2 separate regions of the Homo sapiens genome follow, and region 2 is linked to region 1. Evidence: promoter capture Hi-C in human tissues and cell types (Jung and others, 2019). All regions are on one chromosome and are shown on one strand. Each heading gives the region's core, a stretch centred on a gene start or on the middle of the fragment in contact. The rest is flanking DNA. Distances are from core to core; before and after follow the strand shown. Region 1 holds the start of HOXA4 (homeobox A4). Region 2 has its middle 110 kb from the start of SKAP2.

Region 1 (3,550 bases), core at 247-2,746:
GCTCTTTGAAAAATCAACTAAGGTGCACCAGCTGAAAAATCCTTGCTTTTGCATGCCAATATGAAAATATTTTTAGAATGGTGACTATGCTAGTTTACACTGCTTTAATTTAGGCTGAAAAGTAGAGGATCTAGATATGTCTACTACTCAGAAAAGAAAGGGAGAAAGCACACAGCACAAATAAGGCATCAGTATTTACTTCAAAGATCAACATTAGGTGGAATTAATAAGTAATTTATTTGTTAATAATGGCGTAATTAGTGTACCCATCAAATTTCAATTACCAAATAGCAGGCAACAGTCTCCTCTCCCTCCTTTCCGGAGCTTCTGATATCGTTAATACGCTAATTTTCAGCAATTCAGAAATTATAGACTGTCCTGCAAATATAACTCTAGCCTCAGATACTGCCTGAGAAAGCAGGATCTAAAAGAGAAAACATGAAATTCTTAGCTGGAAAAGACCCATCAGCGATCAGACCCGGCAAGGTGTTTATTCTACCCTTAGCTTGTTTTTGTTTGGGGATAGTTCTGAAATAGGAAGTTATTGTTTTCAAAGCTCGGTTCTGTGGAGGTGTTGCTTCTATCCATTCCCATCCTTGGGCCACCTTCTCTCTCACAATCGCACCTAGTAAATGCGGGCATATTTAGCTCTCACATCGACAACCCCCGTCAAATTAGATGCTATTACGAAGGTTCCAATTTTTCTTAGGAAAACACGAAACAGATTGTCTCTGAAAGAAGGAAAAAATGAAAAGTGTCCATCCAGTTATAATGGAATGGCCTCGATTTACATCCTTGGGTCGATTTCTCTTAGCTGCCCGCCCACCCTTTGCAGCTTCTGCCAAGCTTCTCAAAGCAAGGGCTCTCAGGCTGACACGCAAGGAGCAGGGTGTGGGGAAGGGGGATCTGCGGTTGAGAAAATGTGTCTGGTGGCCTCTCAGTGGCGTACATAAAAACCAGGATGCCCCTCGGTCCCAACGCCCTTCCTTTCGCCTGTTAGCCTAGAACCCCTGAAGGACACGAAGCCTGACTGGGTTGCGCCCGAGGTCAGCGCTGAGTCGCGGCCGCCAGACAGCCCGAGGCCTAGGCCAGCAGTAGGGCAGGCAGAGGGCTCCCGAGAGGACCTACAGCCTGACAGGGCCTGAATTCCCAGCGGGAACCAAAGCTGGGGGGCTGGGGTCCAAAGCTCCTGCTCCCTCCCCCAGCCCAGGGGCCGGACAGCAGCATCCATCACGCACCCGCGCGTTTCCTGATCCGGGTCCGCGCGCGCGGTGCGCCCATTGGTGGGGGCGCTGCACGTGGGGCACGGGGCGGGGCGCGCGCTGGGCTGGGGAGGAGCGGCTCGAACTTTGGTGGCGGCGTCTGCGGGAGGGGGAGGAGTGGGCACTTGACAGCGGGGGGAGGGGAAGGGCGCAGAGGAAAGGGGGATGGGAAGCGAGGCAGGAGGGGGAGGGGCCTCGGCAAGCCCAGAAAAAACGACAACGCGAGAAAAATTAGTATTTTTGCACTTCACAAATTAATGACCATGAGCTCGTTTTTGATAAACTCCAACTACATCGAGCCCAAGTTCCCTCCCTTCGAGGAGTACGCGCAGCACAGCGGCTCGGGCGGCGCAGACGGCGGCCCGGGCGGGGGCCCCGGCTACCAGCAGCCCCCAGCGCCCCCGACCCAGCACCTGCCGCTGCAGCAGCCCCAGCTCCCTCACGCGGGCGGCGGCCGAGAGCCCACTGCCTCCTACTACGCGCCGCGGACCGCCCGCGAGCCCGCCTACCCTGCTGCCGCGCTGTACCCCGCGCATGGGGCCGCGGACACCGCCTACCCCTATGGCTACCGCGGCGGCGCCAGCCCCGGGCGGCCGCCCCAGCCCGAGCAGCCCCCGGCGCAAGCCAAGGGCCCAGCGCACGGCCTGCATGCGAGCCACGTCCTGCAGCCCCAGCTGCCGCCGCCCCTGCAGCCTCGCGCCGTGCCCCCAGCGGCCCCGCGGCGCTGCGAGGCGGCCCCCGCCACCCCAGGCGTCCCGGCAGGGGGCAGCGCCCCCGCGTGCCCGCTGCTCTTGGCCGACAAGAGCCCGCTGGGCCTGAAGGGCAAGGAGCCCGTGGTGTACCCCTGGATGAAGAAGATCCATGTCAGCGCCGGTACGTGGCGCCGCTTGGGAGGCGCGGGAGGTGGGCCGGGGCTGGGCCTGGGTTCGAGGGTCGGGGTCAGGAGGGAGAGGCTCAGGGGAAGGGGGCCTCGGGAGGGGAGCCCCCATCTGACCCGGGCTGCGGTGAGATGTGGGTATGTGCGCGCCAGCCAGCCGCCTGATCCCAACATGAGAACCCTTTTGTACCCAGGGTCCCTTTATCAGGAGATTTACGAGACGCCAAACTGTTAGGGCAGTAATTATAGCCCCCATAAATTTAATTGCCCTGGCAGAGGCTTCAGGCCATGTGTCTTTGAAGCTTTTCTTCAGCCCCAATGCCCAGCACCATTCTTTATGGCTCTCGGGTGTTTCCCGTTGTCAATAGCCTGTGAAACATTTTCTTTGCCGTTTTATGTATCTTGCGTGAACTTGGTGTCAGGTTATTATATAATGATGATGTCCAATTGCTCTTCCCCACCCCACCTTCTCTCTCCTCCTCCTTTCCCTCTCTTCCGCTCCCTCCTCCTTGGCCTTCTATTTCGGGGTTCTGGGTTTTCAGTTAACCCCAGTTATAACGGAGGGGAGCCTAAGCGCTCTCGAACCGCCTACACCCGGCAGCAGGTCTTGGAGCTGGAGAAGGAGTTCCACTTCAATCGATACCTGACCCGGCGGCGCCGCATCGAGATCGCCCACACGCTCTGTTTGTCTGAGCGCCAGGTCAAGATCTGGTTTCAGAACCGGAGGATGAAGTGGAAGAAAGACCACAAACTGCCCAACACCAAGATGCGATCCTCCAATTCGGCCTCGGCCTCTGCCGGCCCACCAGGGAAAGCACAAACTCAGAGCCCACACCTCCATCCCCACCCCCACCCGAGCACCTCCACACCCGTTCCCTCCTCCATATAATCTTCTAGAGATCTTAACCAGTTTCTATCCCTTACCTGCTTTTCTCTTCTCTTCTCCTGCTCCGTTCCTCATCCACCCCTCCCCATCTGGACCATAATAGACACCAAAACAAACCCAAATTGGTGAAAAGAATAATCAAAAAGAAGACATTATCCGGTTAAGAGTCTGTGCTGGTTGCCACCCAAGAGAGAACAGTTGTCCAGGATGCTGGCTGGTGGAACAACCTGCTGGCCCGAAACAAGGCTGCCAGGTGTGGATACCTGAGAAGGACTACTTGGTATCAAATACTTTTGAGATGGCTACAGTCAGCTAGCTGGACAGCCCATGCTGAGTGGGGACATACACTTGCATCTTTGTTGAAAGCAGAAGAAGACAGACCCTTTCCCCACCTTCCTTACCTCCTCTTCCCCCATTAAGGCAGCTCATCCAAGCTTGTATTTAACTGAATAAATGAGTAGACATTGTGGACCTCACAAGATTATTTAATTCTTAAGATGTGTAGACCTTGATGGTAGGTGTGAC
Region 2 (3,816 bases), core at 1,009-3,508, 160 kb after region 1:
GTAGTAACTGGCTTGTGAGATAATTCCTGGGTAGGTGCTTGTACCCACCAAGTGTTTTTCTTTTCCTCCCCTTGGTCTCTCAACTTATATTTGAGTATGACAAGATAACTCCAATTTATACAATCAGTTTTCAAAGCAGCAAAGCAGGCAGCCAACTTCTAGCTCTCTGTTTTTGTTTGTTTTTTTGAGAAGTTATCTCTCTCTGTCACCTAGGCTGGATTGCAGTAGTATGATCTTAGCTCACTGCAACTTTGAACTCCTGGGCTCATGCTATCCTCAGCCTCCCAAGTATGTGGGACTACAGGCACATGCTACCCTGTCTGGTTTATTTATTTATATTCTTAGTAAGAGTGGATCACATAAGAGAAAAAAGGGGTTGTTTTTGTTACTTCTATTGCATTTTGTTCTTAGGCAGTCTGAAAAGTTGAAATCACTTATTCAATTTCAAGATAACTTGGGATACTTTTTCTTGGCTCCTTTCCTTACTTTAGTTTTCTCGTTATTTTCCTTTTATTTATTTTTATTCTTTAAATTTTTATTTATTTTATTATTTTTTTTTTAGAAGGAATCTAGCTCTGTTGCCCAGGCTGGAGTGCAGTGACACTATCTGGGCTCACTGCAACCTCTGCCTCCCAGGTTCAAGCGATTCTCCTCCCTCAGCCTCCTGAGTAGCTAGGATTACAGGCATATACCACCATGCCTGGCTAATTTTTTGTATTTTTAGTAGAGATGGGTTTTTGCCCCTATTGCCCAGGTTGGTCTCGAACTCCTGAGCTCAGGTGATTTGCCCACCTCAGCCTCCCAAAATGCTGGGATTACAGACGTGAGCCACCACCCCCAGCCTATTTTCTTTTTAAACAAAAGAAAACTTACATTTTTAAGATTAATATTCCAAGGTCATTTTTCTTTCCATGCCAATTATATAATTTGGAATAAAGAACTTATGTTTTAAAGGCTGTCAACTAACTGAGACCCTTTGTGTGACGGAGAAATGTTGCGTTTTGAAAGAAACAGTTATTTTTGTGAACTTCCTGTTCACTGGCCGAGACAGACTTCCCAATAGAGTCTGTTTGGGTCTGTTTGGCCTTCTGGGTCATTTTATACCCTCTGTCTGTAGCCATCAATTGGTTTATGCTTCCTGTGTAGACATGAGTGATCTGGGACAGTTATATGGCGTCCTGTTTTGGATGACGAGAGGGAACCATGAAAATAAATCCATTAATTCCATAAATATTTAGTGAGCACTTGTTTGAGGTAAGTGCTATAATTAGTTTCTGGAAACATGAATATGAAGAAAACACAGTATCTGCCATCAAGAAACTCAGGATCTAATAAACAGATAAACAGTAAACTCAGATGAATTAACACAATAAACTCAGATAAACACAGATAAACTCAGATAAATCCTACTGAGCAAAGTGCAAAACGTGTGGTCACTTTGCTTGGTGGAGATAGGGAAAGCTTTACTGTAGTGGTAGCATTAAAGGTAAGACTTAAGGTATCCATGGGACTTTGCTAAAAAACAATAGGGAAGGCATTCTAGGCAGAAAAACTAACATGTTCCAAGATCTGTCTTTTAGGGAAAGTGCCCAGAAAGTGGGGAATATGATATGGAAGAGCATGTGGTATATTTGGGGGAATATGATATGGAAGAGCATGTGGTATATTTGTGGTATATTTGGGGGAATGCCTGTAGACACAATGAGGCAATTCAATCAATGCCAGATTATAGCTATACAGATTTTATTCTGTATGAAGTAACACAAAGTGAAAGGCAGAGAAAAAAACTTGATAATTATTTTTAAAGATTTATTTGTAGATGATCTATTTATAACAACTAAAATTTGATCACATAAACATGGTAACCTACATGATCCTTTTGGATTATAAATAAATTACTTCATGTTTTCAGATTATCTACAATTATTACAGGGTGAAATTAATTGACTGTAGGTTTTATAGATCTTACATACAAAACACCAGATTCTCTTGTCTTCCTTTAGGTTAGATGAGTAATTATAAGTATGGATTATTATAGTAACAAGAAACAAGCTGGGTTGTTTTGAAAAAGCAGTAAGATTTTTTTCTTAAAGCAAAAAAGCCTCACTCTATGACTTAATTCAAGTTCTATATTAGATTAAGTACTACTTACTGATGGATACAGTGAAATTATACCTTAACTTAGACAAAGTAAAGGGTATGTTTTCTTTTAAACCAAAGGCAAAGACTTAGAAGGAGGAACAAATTACCAATCTGAGAATTTTAAAAACCAGCCGTCTTTTCTCCCAGGCCATACAGTGAATATGCAACGTAGAAAATAAATAAAAGGACCGGGCGCAGTGGCTCACGCCTGTAATCCCAGCACTTTGGGAGGCTGAAGCGGGTGGATCACGAGGTCAGGAGATCAAGGCTATCCTGGCTAATATGGTGAAACCCCATCTCTACCAAAAATACCAAATATTAGCTGGGCGTGGTGGTGGGCGCCTGTAGTCCCAGCTACTCGGGAGGCTGAGGCAGGAGAATGGTGTGAACCTGGGAGGTGGAGCTGCAGTGAGCCAAGATCGCACCACTGCACTTCCAGCCTGGGTGACAGAGCGAGACTCCGTTAAAAAAAAAAAAAAGAAAATAAATAAAAGACATTAAAATGTTTTTACTAAGTACTGTAAAAGGTTACTAATTATCAGTACCAGCACGCTTTCCCTAGTTATGAAACCTCCAAAGGTTATAAAATGAAAATGTCATTGTAGAGGTGGGGCCAAGATGGCTGACTAGAAGCAGCTACGGTCTGTGGCTCTCATGGACAGGTGGTTAATACAGCACCTTCAACTGAAGCATTGAAAAAGGTGAGTTAATATAGCATCTTCAACTGAAGCATCCAGGTACGCATGTTGGGACTAATCAAGGAAATAAGCTATGGAGAATGAAGAAAAGCATGATAGGATGATGACCCACCCAAGAGCAACATGGAGCCACGGGAATGTCCCCCACCCAGGAAAGCAGTGAGTGAAGGTGCAACCCCAGGAAACCATGTTTCTCCCATGGACCCTTGCAACCCTTGGGTCAGGAGACTCCCTCGTGACCACACTCCACCAGGGCCTTCAGTCTGATACACAGGGCTGCATGGAGTCTTGACAGAGCAGCTGCTCAGGCATGCATGGAAGCCCAGGAGCTTTACATACTCTGGCTCCAGGCTTCCTGGCAAGGCAGGAGGTTAGACCTTTATCCACACTCCTAGGAAGGGGGGCTGAATCCAGAGGGCTGAGCAGCAATGGTCTGTGGGCCCCATTTCTGTGGCATCTCACAGGATAAGACACAATGGCTTGGAATTCCAGCCAACCACCAGAAACAGTGTCACACCTACCTGGGATGAAATGGGCCACCATTGTTGCTCTTTGGGGAATTTGTGCAATTCAGCTGTTCCAGCCTGTGGGCTTTGGAGAGCCCAAGCTGACCAGGTGGAAGTGATACCCTAGCATGGCACAGCTGCTCTACAACAATGTGGCCAGACTGCTTCTAAAAGCAGGTCTCTAATCCCATTTCTCCTGACTGGGTGAGACCTCCCAACTGGGGTCTCTAGTCACCCACTACAGGTGCGTTTGGGCCAGCAACAAGTCCATACCTCCCTGGGAGGGAGCTTCCAGGAGAAGGGGCAGGCTGCCATCTTTGCTGTTTTGCAGCCTTCACTGGTGATACTTCCAGGTACTAGAAAATCTGAGGCAAGCAGGGCCTGGAGCAGACCCCCAGAAAACTGCAGCATTCCTACAGAAAAGGGGCTAGACTGGTAAAAGAAAAAACAAACACCTAATCCAAAGGTCA

What was found. The method cuts DNA at HindIII sites, captures the fragments that hold promoters and counts their contacts. A contact is called where the count stands out against the background at its distance.
Region 2: a fragment that was not itself captured here is called in contact with the fragment with the promoter of HOXA4 in region 1 in 1 of the 25 tissues and cell types used here (spleen).

Annotation. Positions count from the first base shown.
Region 1 is chr7:27,128,703-27,132,252 of GRCh38, reverse strand. It overlaps HOXA4 (homeobox A4), which reads left to right and starts at 1,496. Exons shown (of 2, transcript NM_002141.5): 1 at 1,496-2,135; 2 at 2,682-3,550. The coding sequence starts at 1,520. The coding sequence ends at 3,028. All of the region lies in intron 2 of HOXA3 (homeobox A3), which reads left to right. HOXA-AS2 (HOXA cluster antisense RNA 2) reads right to left here. Exons shown (of 4, transcript NR_122069.1): 4 at 3,493-3,550. RefSeq lists a silencer at 1,269-1,338. The HindIII fragment of the contact is 3,192 bases long and covers 1-2,950 here.
Region 2 is chr7:26,973,337-26,977,152 of GRCh38, reverse strand. No RefSeq gene overlaps it. Among named protein-coding and RNA genes, the nearest start is that of SKAP2, 110 kb to the right of the region's middle. The HindIII fragment of the contact is 3,561 bases long and covers 478-3,816 here.